Regions from separate parts of the Homo sapiens genome. Here region 2 is linked to region 1. The links are contacts of gene promoters, found by promoter capture Hi-C in human tissues and cell types (Jung and others, 2019). All regions are on one chromosome and are shown on one strand. The core of a region is centred on a gene start or on the middle of the fragment in contact, and the rest is flanking DNA. Distances in the headings are between cores, read along the strand shown.

Region 1 (5,241 bases), core at 910-3,409:
CACCGGGTCAGTGCCCTGCCCCCTCCTGCGGGTCCCAACTCTCTCTTTCCCATCGTGCGTCCTCTGGAGAAGTGCGCGCGTGTAAGTGTGGCGAGTGTGGCCAAGGGTGCCGGAGGCAGGGTTCGGGTGCGTAGTCGTTGCGTGGGCGCTGCCCAAAAGGCGCAGAGCATCAAGTGTGCGTGGGCAGAACCGGCGCGGGCGCCCGCCGCGGGTCTGCGCGGGGCGGGGGCGCAGCAAGTGCATCCGAGCGAGCGGAGACTAGCGCACCGGCGTCGGTGGCGAGGGTGGTGCAGAGGAGTCCGGCTGGGCGGAGGGAGGAAGGATGGGTGCGGGTAACTTTTTGACCGCCTTGGAAGTACCAGTAGCCGCGCTCGCAGGGGCTGCCTCCGACCGCCGGGCGAGCTGCGAGCGAGTGAGCCCGCCACCGCCCCTCCCCCACTTCCGCCTCCCGCCTCTTCCTCGTTCCCGGCTCCCAGGGCCCGTCGGTCCCCCGGGAGCCCTGGAGGCGCAGCCCCACCCCGGCCGGCGCGGCTCGCTCCCACGCCCCCGCCGCGGCCTCGCTGGAGCGGACGGACTGAGTCAGAGGGGGCGCCAGCGCTGCAGGTAGGGGCTCCGGCGGCGGTGGGCGCAGGTGCCGCGGTGGACCGCGGAGGGGACCGGAGCACGAGGGGAACGGCCTTGGGGGAGCGCCCTCCCCCCGTCCTCCGCCGACGCCTCGTGTCCCTTTTTAGGGAATTTTTTCCCTCTTGCTGGCTCCAGTGCGGGTGGGGCTGAGACCGAGAGGGAGTTCTCCATTTCGCTGGCTCCTGCCCGGCCCCTGGCAGCCTCCTGCCCCCAAATCTCTTCACCCCCTTTCCAGTACCTATAGGTCGCGTAAACAACTCCCTTTCTCCAGCTCTGGGCTCCGCGGCCCCCCGGGGGACAGCTCCTTCAGTCTCGTGAGATCGGTGGGGTTAGGGGGAGGGGAAAAGAGAGGGGGTGTCCCAGAGCCCCTGGCCCCCGTCAGCTCCCCCACCTTGGCCTCTCCCTCCCCCTCCTCGCTGCTGGAGCACAGGCTCCAGGGGCCCTGGGTATTTTTAGCGTTGTGACCTGGGCGGCAGCTCTAAGAGCCTTTCCCGGGAATCGGCGTCAGCGCCTCGCTCCTCCGCCGCCAGCCCGCGGCCGCACGGTCTCCCCAGACTTCCGTGGCCCTGCCTTGGCCAGTCGGGGTTGGGTCCCTCTCCACCTCTGTGGCGCCCGTGGAGCTGGCCAGGGTCTGGGATACGCTGGGTGCAGATGAGGTGGGGAAGGCAGTCTGCGGAGGATGACGTCTGATCCTCAAGCTAGAAACTCCCTTGCCTCTGGTGATGGGCTCAGAGCAGAACGCCGGGAAGGAGATGAGCGAATGGGAATGAATGCACCGACCTGGGCTGGCCCATAGCCTCAGTGCTCTGGCAGGGTCTCAGCTTCTCAGCCCTAGGGGTCAGGAGGCCTGCTCTGAACTGGACCCAGAACCCGCCTTTCCAATTGCTCCTCACTGACTAATGGGGAGATAAGTCAGTGAGATGTGTCCCAGGAGGGGGACGCATAAAGAGCTGTTGGAGTTCAAAGGAAAGATGGTAGTCTCCTAAATAGCTCACCTTCACAAGCAGGGTCTTGTATTTGAGGCAGGTAGGTTGGTTATGCCATTTTCAGATGGGGAGACTAAGACCAGAAAGGTGATTTCCTTAGGGGCAGAGCCTAGTCTGGAAGTCAGGCCTGTGACTTCAGAGCAAGGGTTTGGGGTAGATGGCACATGCGTGTGTACGTGTTTGTGTGGGTGGAGAGAAAAGGAGGGGCGCGGGAGGAGTTGCTTTAGCCTTTGTCTGGGTTTTGAAGGATGGGAAGGGGTGGGCTGCAGCACTGGAGGAAGGGAACCCTCCACCCTGAGATCTCTGTCTCTATCCTATCCTGTCCCTGGCCTTCTGAGGCAAGCGGGGCCAATTAAGGGGAAAACGTACCTCCTCCATTTGTGCTGAACCAATCCCTCCAACCCCTCTCAGGAGGGCATGATATGGAGAGTTGGGCATTGGCTGTGTTCCCTGAATACAGAGTATCTCTCTTGTGGTGCCTGGAACTGGCATCCCCTTTGTGGAGCTTAGGGCAAGCCCCGCCTCTGCATGAGACTTGGTTTGTGGGACACACTTGGTTTCAGGGAAGGGGAAAGAGGTCACCAAGGGCAGAGGTGTCCAGGCCGGAGCCAGGGGCCCCACTGTTGGGATGCTGGCTGCAGTGGGGCGCCCCAAGCCCAGGTCCCCTCTGTCTTCTCTTTCGACTTTGCAGCTGTACTTGTTTTGCTCCTCTACCCGCAGGAGCTGACATGGACCCAAATCCTCGGGCCGCCCTGGAGCGCCAGCAGCTCCGCCTTCGGGAGCGGCAAAAATTCTTCGAGGACATTTTACAGCCAGAGACAGAGTTTGTCTTTCCTCTGTCCCATCTGCATCTCGAGTCGCAGAGACGTAAGTCCCAAGTCCTGAGAAGAGGGACTGGGGTAGGGTAGGGAGGATGTCCTGTGGGTCCTGAATCTTGTGGCACTCTCTCCCCTCTGGTTTTCTTGGCCCTCTATGCTTCTAACTTGGGACCTGACATGTAACTCTCACTGTCCTGGTGTGCAGCTTGGGTCCTCCTGACTTGCCCACTTCTTGATCCGCAGCCCCCATAGGTAGTATCTCATCCATGGAAGTGAATGTGGACACACTGGAGCAAGTAGAACTTATTGACCTTGGGGACCCGGATGCAGCAGATGTGTTCTTGCCTTGCGAAGATCCTCCACCAACCCCCCAGTCGTCTGGTATGCCCCTCTGCTTTGGGGACTTCAGTGCCAGTCAGCCAGAGCCGGATGTCAGGCTCTGAAACGAGGCTACAAGGCTGGGCTGGGGAAGTACACAAGTAAGGGCTGGAAGTGGGTGTTTCTACCAATGAAACAGCTGCCTGTTCTGATTTTAGGGAAGTTGACCCTGAGGGAGAACTGGGTTACACATCTCTAATCCAAAATTCTGGGAACGGTCAATCTCTTCTTTAATTTTACATTTGTTATATTAATATAATTAGTCACTATAATTAAAATAATGTAAAATTGTAATTTTTATATTTGGCAACTTAAGTAGTTTTAGTCATTATAATGATATTAATATGTATTGAGTACTTTAGTAGGTTCCAATACTGTACTAAAGTACTTTACATATATTATCTCAATCCTTACAACGTCCTGTCAGGGTAGGTGATATAATCTCTATTTTATAAGCAGGAAATTAGGCTCAGAGAAGTTAAGTCACATTGTAGCCAGAAGGTAGATAAACTGGAATTCATGTCTGTCTGACTCCAAAGCCCATATGCTTAACTTGTAAGATAGATATTCTTTTAATTAAAACTGCTACTATTTATTGATGGCTTACTATGCCAGACATTTTATAAGCATTCTTAGGTTTTATTCCCAAAACCCTTTGGGGATGTAGGTATCCCTTTTATTTTGCAGAGGAGGAACAGAGTCCTTGAAAGGGAAAGTGACTTGCTCAAAGCCACTCAGCAGCAATAAGTGATGTAGGTGGAACTTGAACTCTTGCCATTCATTGACCTGACTGTAGATCCCAGACATGGTGTAATGACGTGGAAGGAGCTGGCAGTCAGGAGATGGTGATCTTAATCCTGGCTCTTTGCTGGATTGGCAAAGTCACTTTGGACAAGTCTCTGCCCCACTGTGGACTTTAGTTACTCCTGGCCAGATAATCTTTAAGAGTTCTCTGAAGCCCTGTTTGTGGCCTGACCAGCTTTTCTCTCTGGGCAGGGATGGACAACCATTTGGAGGAGCTGAGCCTGCCGGTGCCTACATCAGACAGGACCACATCTAGGACCTCCTCCTCCTCCTCCTCCGACTCCTCCACCAACCTGCATAGCCCAAATCCAAGTGATGATGGAGCAGATACGCCCTTGGCACAGTCGGATGAAGAGGAGGAAAGGGGTGATGGAGGGGCAGAGCCTGGAGCCTGCAGCTAGCAGTGGGCCCCTGCCTACAGACTGACCACGCTGGCTATTCTCCACATGAGACCACAGGCCCAGCCAGAGCCTGTCGGGAGAAGACCAGACTCTTTACTTGCAGTAGGCACCAGAGGTGGGAAGGATGGTGGGATTGTGTACCTTTCTAAGAATTAACCCTCTCCTGCTTTACTGCTAATTTTTTCCTGCTGCAACCCTCCCACCAGTTTTTGGCTTACTCCTGAGATATGATTTGCAAATGAGGAGAGAGAAGATGAGGTTGGACAAGATGCCACTGCTTTTCTTAGCACTCTTCCCTCCCCTAAACCATCCCGTAGTCTTCTAATACAGTCTCTCAGACAAGTGTCTCTAGATGGATGTGAACTCCTTAACTCATCAAGTAAGGTGGTACTCAAGCCATGCTGCCTCCTTACATCCTTTTTGGAACAGAGCACGGTATAAATAATAAACTAATAATAATATGCCAACCATTCGACTTCATTTTTCATATTGCAAAGATATCAAACCCACTACATGTCTTTAGCTCTCTAACCGATCCCATATTCCTATCACTCACTCATTCCATTTATTCAAGAAATGTTTATGGAACACCCATGCTAGGCATCTGGAATACAGTTTTGAGCAAGACAGGCTGTACTGTATACCTGCCTTCATAGAGTTTACTGTTTATGGAGGAGAAAATCAAGTAAATACTACAATTCACAGTGTAATAAATAGCATGATGAGGAACTACTCTGGTACCAGAAAATAGGGGCATGTTAACCTAGTTTCTATGGTCACTGAAGAGCTGTTTTTAGCTGAAGGACGATTGGGAGTTAGCCAGGCACAGTCCGTAAGCCAGGCAGAACGAGCAGCTCGTGAAGACTTTAAACGGAGAGAGCATATCCTTGAGGAGCTAAAAAACATTGCGTTTGGCTGAATTGTTGGATTTGAGGAAATGAAGGGAGAGTTAAGACTGACAAAGGTCAGGTTGTAAAATCCGTTGAAGCCTGGATCAGGTTTCAGTTTGACAGCTAGTAAAAGATCATGACTTAAGATATAAAGTTATTTCCTCATATAGAAGTTAAAAAGTACAGGTCTACATGAAAGCTCCATCGTTACTCAGCACTGGGCTCCTTTTTTGCTCTTTTGCACATGGTTTGCATTCTTAGCAATATCTCACATCTAAGGTGGCTGTCAAAGCCCCAGCCATCATGACCTTGAGACTGGCAGAAAGCAGGAGAGGAAATG
Region 2 (5,054 bases), core at 2,210-4,709, 1.8 Mb before region 1:
CAGTGCTTTCAACTCTGTTTGTTACTCATCATGGTGGGTGGTGGGCAGTGGTCACAAGCCCTGCCATGGTAGGGCAAAAGGATCAAAATTTGATCCTTGGGTTGGATTCAGCCCTAAAGCCAGATATTATGTATATGTCCTAATTAATAAAGATTCAGAATCTCTAAAGTCCAAAGCACTGAAGAGTTTACATTTCAGGCTTTATACTGAAATACTAAAATTCTGTGTCTTATTCTCTCATCCAGGAACATGACATCGATACAAGTGAAACAGCATTCCAGAACAATTTCTGAAGACCATGCCTCTTGAAGCTTTTTCTGCCTCCTGATTCTCTCTTTGTAAACTATTTTCAAATTGTTTTTCAACTCCTTATCAAAATTGTTTATACACTCTTTCCTCCATGAGCTCTGGAAGGTATATGCATCTTCTGTAATACTCAGATAGGTATAAGATTTTTCACAAAATCCTTATGTAAGATACATTCCATTTTTAAAAATTAAATGTATGGTTGCATCTGTCTTTTTATACCCTATGAAACAGTCTTGATTTTTTTTTCTCAACCCCAGTTCTGGATTTGAGTCTTTTATCAAAGACATAATTAACTCTCAAGCTTGTTGTAAATACTGTACAGCTTTCTGGACCGGTTGAAAGGATACAACAGTGGCTGGACACGGTGGCTCACTCATGTAATCCCAGCACTTTGGGAGGCCGAGGCGGGCGGATCATTTGAGGTCAGGAGTTCAAGACCAGCCTGGCCAACATGGTGAAACCTGTCTCTACTAAAAATACAAAAGTTAGCCAGGTGTGGTGGCATGTGCCTGTAATCCCAGCTACTTGGGAGGCTGAGACAGGAGAATCACTTGAATCTGGGAGGCAGAGGTTGCAGTGAGCCGAGATCACGCCACTACACTCCCGCCTGGGTGACAGTGAGACTCTGTCTCAAAAAAAAAAGGGGGGGATGGGAGGCTAGGTGCAGTGGCTCATGCCTGTAATCCCAGCACTTTGGGAGACCGAGTTGGGTGGATCACGAGGGCAGGAGATCGAGACCATCCTGGCTAACATGGTGAAACCCCATCTCTACTAAAAGTACAAAAAATTAGCCGGGCATGGTGGCACACACCTGTAGTTCCAGCTACTCGGGAGGGTGAGGCAGGAGAATCACTTGAACCCGGGAGGCGGAGGTTGCAGTAAACTGAGATCACACCACCACATACCAGTCTGGGTGTCAGAGCAAGACTCTTGTCTCAAAAAAAAAAAAAAAAAAGGATACAGAACTTAACCCATAGTCTGTTTACCCCACTGTACCTAAAGAAGAAGATAAAAGAGTAGACAGATACCTTCCTTATATAGATCTCATCCCTTCATCTCCCAGTTGCCCATAGGACACAACCATGTAGAGCAAGCTTGTCCAACCCGCAGCCCATGGGCTGCATGTGGCTTAGGACGGCTTTGAATGTGGCCTAAAACAAATTTGTAAACTTTTTTTTTTTTTTTGGAGACGGAGTCTCGCTCTGTCACCCACGCTGGAGTGCAGTGGCGCGATCTCGGCTCACTGCAAGCTCTGCCTCCTGGGTTCACACCATTCTCCTGCCTCAGCCTCTCCGAGTAGCTGGGACTACAGGCGCCCGCCACCACGCCCGGCTAATTTTTAGTATTTTTAGTAGAGATGGGGTTTCACCGTGGTCTCGATCTCCTGACCTCATGATCCGCCCGCCTCAGCCTCCCAAAGTGCTGGGATTACAAGCGTGAGCCACCGCGCCCGGCCTACAAATTTGTAAACTCTTAAAACATTATGAGGCCAGGTGCAGTGGCTCATGCTTGTAATCCCAACACTTTGGGAGGCCAAGGTGGGTGGATCACCTGAGGCCAGGAGATAGAGACCAACCTGGCCAACAGGATGAAACCCTGTCCCTACAAAAAATACAAAAATTAGCCAGGTGTAGAGGCCTGGTACGGTGGCTCATGCCTGTAATCCCAGTTCTTTGGGAGGCCGAGGTGGATGGATCACTTGAAGTCAGGAGTTCAAGACAAGCCTGGCCAACATGGCGAAAACCTGTCTCTCCTAAAAATACAAAAATTACCCGGGTGTGGTGGTGCAGGCCTATAATCCCAGCTTCTCAGGAGGCTGGGGCAGGACAGTCGCTTGAACCCCAGAGGCAGAGGTTGTGGTGAGCTGAGGTTGTACCACTGCACTCCAGCCTGGGCAACAGAGCAAGACTGTCTCAAAAAAAAAAAAAAAATTAGCCAGACATGGTCAGGCATAGTGGCTCATAGCTGTAGTCCCAGCTACTTGGGAGGCTGAGGTGGGGAAAATCATTGAACCTGGGAGGCAGAAGTTGCAGTGAGCCAAGATCACATAACTGCACTCCAGCCTGGGTGACAGAGCAAGACTGTCAAAAAAAAAAAAAAAAATTAAGAGATAGATGTGTTTATTATTATTTTTATTTTTATTTTTTTTATTTTTTTTAAGAAGGAGTCTCGCCCTTTTGCCCAGGCTGGAGTGCAGTGGCGCTATCTTGGCTCACTGCAAACTCCACCTCCCAGGTTCATGCCATTCTCCTGCCTCAGCCTCCCAAGTAGCTGGGACTACAGGCACCCACCACCATGCCTGGCTAATTTTTTGTATTTTTAATAGAGACGAGGTTTCACTGTGTTAGGCAGGATGGTCTCGATCTCCTGACCTCATGATCCACCAGCCTCGGCCTCCCAAAGTGCTGGGATTACAGGTGTGAGCCACTGCACCCGGCCATTATTATTATTTTTTTAGCTCATCAGCCATTGTTAGTGTATTTTGTGTGACCCAAGACAATTCTTCCAATGTTGCCCAGGGAAGCCAAAAGATTAGATACTCCTGATTTAGAAGCTGAGCCTGGGGAACAAAAGTGAAAGTCCATCTCTACAAAAATGAAAATTAGCCAGGTATAGTGGCACACACCTGTAGTCCCAGGTATTTGGGAGACTGAGGTGGCAGGATTGCTTGAGCCCAGGAGTTCAAAGCTGCACTAGCTATGATCATACCACTGCACTCCAGAATGGGCCACCCATGCTTCTTCCCTGTCCTCTGGCTTCCTGAAGCACTCAGTTCTATCATCATCTTGGGTTATAATGTAGGGCCAAATTTAATCATCTGTTCCAAGGAGGCTAGAGGGTATTGTCATGGGACAATGGGAGAGACTGCACCTGTCAGAATGGTGCAGTTGGTGTATAGAAATGCACAGCAGTGTACTGACATACACAGATAACCAGCTTTGGGGAACTCTGAAAGCCAGATGGAAGGTTGCAGAGCCACTGAGGATAGGAGAGGAGAGAAGGGAGAGGAGAGGAGAGGAGGGGAGGGGAGGGGAGGTGGGAGGAAAGGGGGGAGGGGGGAGGGGAGGAGCAATTCCCATTGCTGCACAATGGGAATAGTTTAGCTGGTGGGTTCTATAAAGATGGGAATGGTAGAAGGATGGTCATTTACAGAAGAGTTTGATACAACCCCAAGAGCAAATAATAAGGATGTGGACTAAGGTGGTATTATAGGAAAGGTGGCATTTTGAAACACTTTGGTCTGGGTGTTGAAAGTTAGATTGGCAAGATTTGGGGCTTGATTTCCTGGGACAGTGGGGGCAGCTATTAAAAGATGGGGAGTCTAGGCCAGGCACGGTGGCTCATGCCTGTAATCCCAGCAATTTGGGAGGCCGAGACGGGCAGATCACCTGAGATCAAGAGTTCTAGACCAGCCTGGCCAACATGGTGAAACCCCGTCTCTACTAAAAATACAAAAATTAGCCTGGCGTGGCGGGCGCCTGTAATCCCAGCTACTCAGGAGACTGAGGTGGGAAAATTGCTTGAACCCGGGAAGTGGAGGTAGCAGTGAGTCGAGATCATGCCATTGCACTCCAGCCTGGGTAACGAGGGAAACTCTATTAAAAAAAAAAAGATGGGGAGTCTGAAGGATGAGTGGTTTTGGAGCATAAGAGTCCAGTTGAGACTATGGCAATTAATACAGGTGGAAATAACTAGTAAATGGCTGGAAATCCCTAATTTAGGCTTAGAAAAGATGTCCAGTCTCAAGAGTGGAGTTGTTCATATGGAGTGGTTAATTAAAGTCATGAGAATCATTTGTCAAAGAGTAGTGTTAGAAATTTAAAAGCTTGGGAAGAACAGCTCAAGTCAAATCCTGAGTTTCAAATGATTTCTTCATGGTAAAGCTCTGTTCATAGGCTTCCATTCTCTCCCATACTCAAGCCCTAGTACACGGCTTATTCAGAGTTGCCAGCCAGGGCAGGGCACTGGGGAACGGGGAAGCCACTCCAGGGGCAGAAGAATTTGGGGGCTCTAGCTCAAAGCTGGGAGATAAGCAGCTAGAGGACAGGCCTGGGGAGTGCTGTGGCAGTGTGTTCCAAATACATACCCAAAATGTGTTCAATGATTGTCTCCCAACCCAAATGCTCTTCTCTTATCCTGTGGGCTTGATGCTCCTCCCATTGAGAGGTGGGGTCTCTGTTCCCTCCTCTGAATCTTTGAATCTGGCACCGTGGCAGAAGTGATGCTGGTGACCTCTGAGGCTAGTTCATAAAAGGCTATACAGCTTCTGCCTGGTTATCTTGGGACATTCACCTTTAGAACACAAGCCTCCATGTAAGAAGTCCAAGGCCACGTGGATAGGCCATGTATAGGTGTTCTGGCCAACAGCCAGAGATCTCAGTCTATACCAGCATCTTGGTATAAATCGCTTGCCAAACATGAATGATGATACCTCCAAATGACTCCTGGCCCCAACCATCAAGCACCTCAGCCTTTTGTCATCCCAATTGAGGTCCCAGATGTCATAGAGCAGAGACAAGCCATCCCTGCTGTGTTCTTTGTGAATTCCTGACTCCCAGAATCCATGAATATAATAAAATGGGAAGGAAGGTGTGCCCTCACTGCCATTTTGTTATATTTGTTTTTATTTTTATTTTTGTTTTTTTGTTTTGTTTTGTTTTTTGAGACAGGGTCTCATTCTGTCTCCCAGGCTGGAGTGCAGTGACACAATCTCAGCTCACTGCACCCTCTGCCTCCCAGGTTCA

The links. Contacts are between HindIII fragments. The study calls those that stand out against the background at their distance.
Region 2: a contact is called between a fragment that was not itself captured here and the fragment with the promoter of DBNDD2 in region 1, in 1 of the 25 tissues and cell types used here (spleen).

Annotation. Positions count from the first base shown.
Region 1 is chr20:45,406,130-45,411,370 of GRCh38, forward strand. DBNDD2 (dysbindin domain containing 2) reads left to right here and starts at 2,160. Exons shown (of 3, transcript NM_001048225.4): 1 at 2,160-2,477; 2 at 2,672-2,809; 3 at 3,803-4,478. The coding sequence starts at 2,339. The coding sequence ends at 4,011. It overlaps SYS1-DBNDD2 (SYS1-DBNDD2 readthrough (NMD candidate)), which reads left to right. Exons shown (of 6, transcript NR_003189.2): 4 at 2,331-2,477; 5 at 2,672-2,809; 6 at 3,803-4,481. It overlaps LOC107985404 (a long non-coding RNA gene), which reads right to left and starts at 1,760. Exons shown (of 5, transcript XR_007067608.1): 1 at 1,620-1,760; 2 at 1-303. It overlaps LOC107985405 (a long non-coding RNA gene), which reads right to left. Exons shown (of 2, transcript XR_001754640.2): 2 at 4,446-5,241. RefSeq lists an enhancer at 748-1,297. The HindIII fragment of the contact is 23,713 bases long and covers 1-5,241 here.
Region 2 is chr20:43,646,691-43,651,744 of GRCh38, forward strand. IFT52 (intraflagellar transport 52) reads left to right here. Exons shown (of 14, transcript NM_016004.5): 14 at 246-609. The coding sequence ends at 293. Among named protein-coding and RNA genes, the nearest start is that of MYBL2, 18 kb to the right of the region's middle. The HindIII fragment of the contact is 6,998 bases long and covers 1-5,054 here.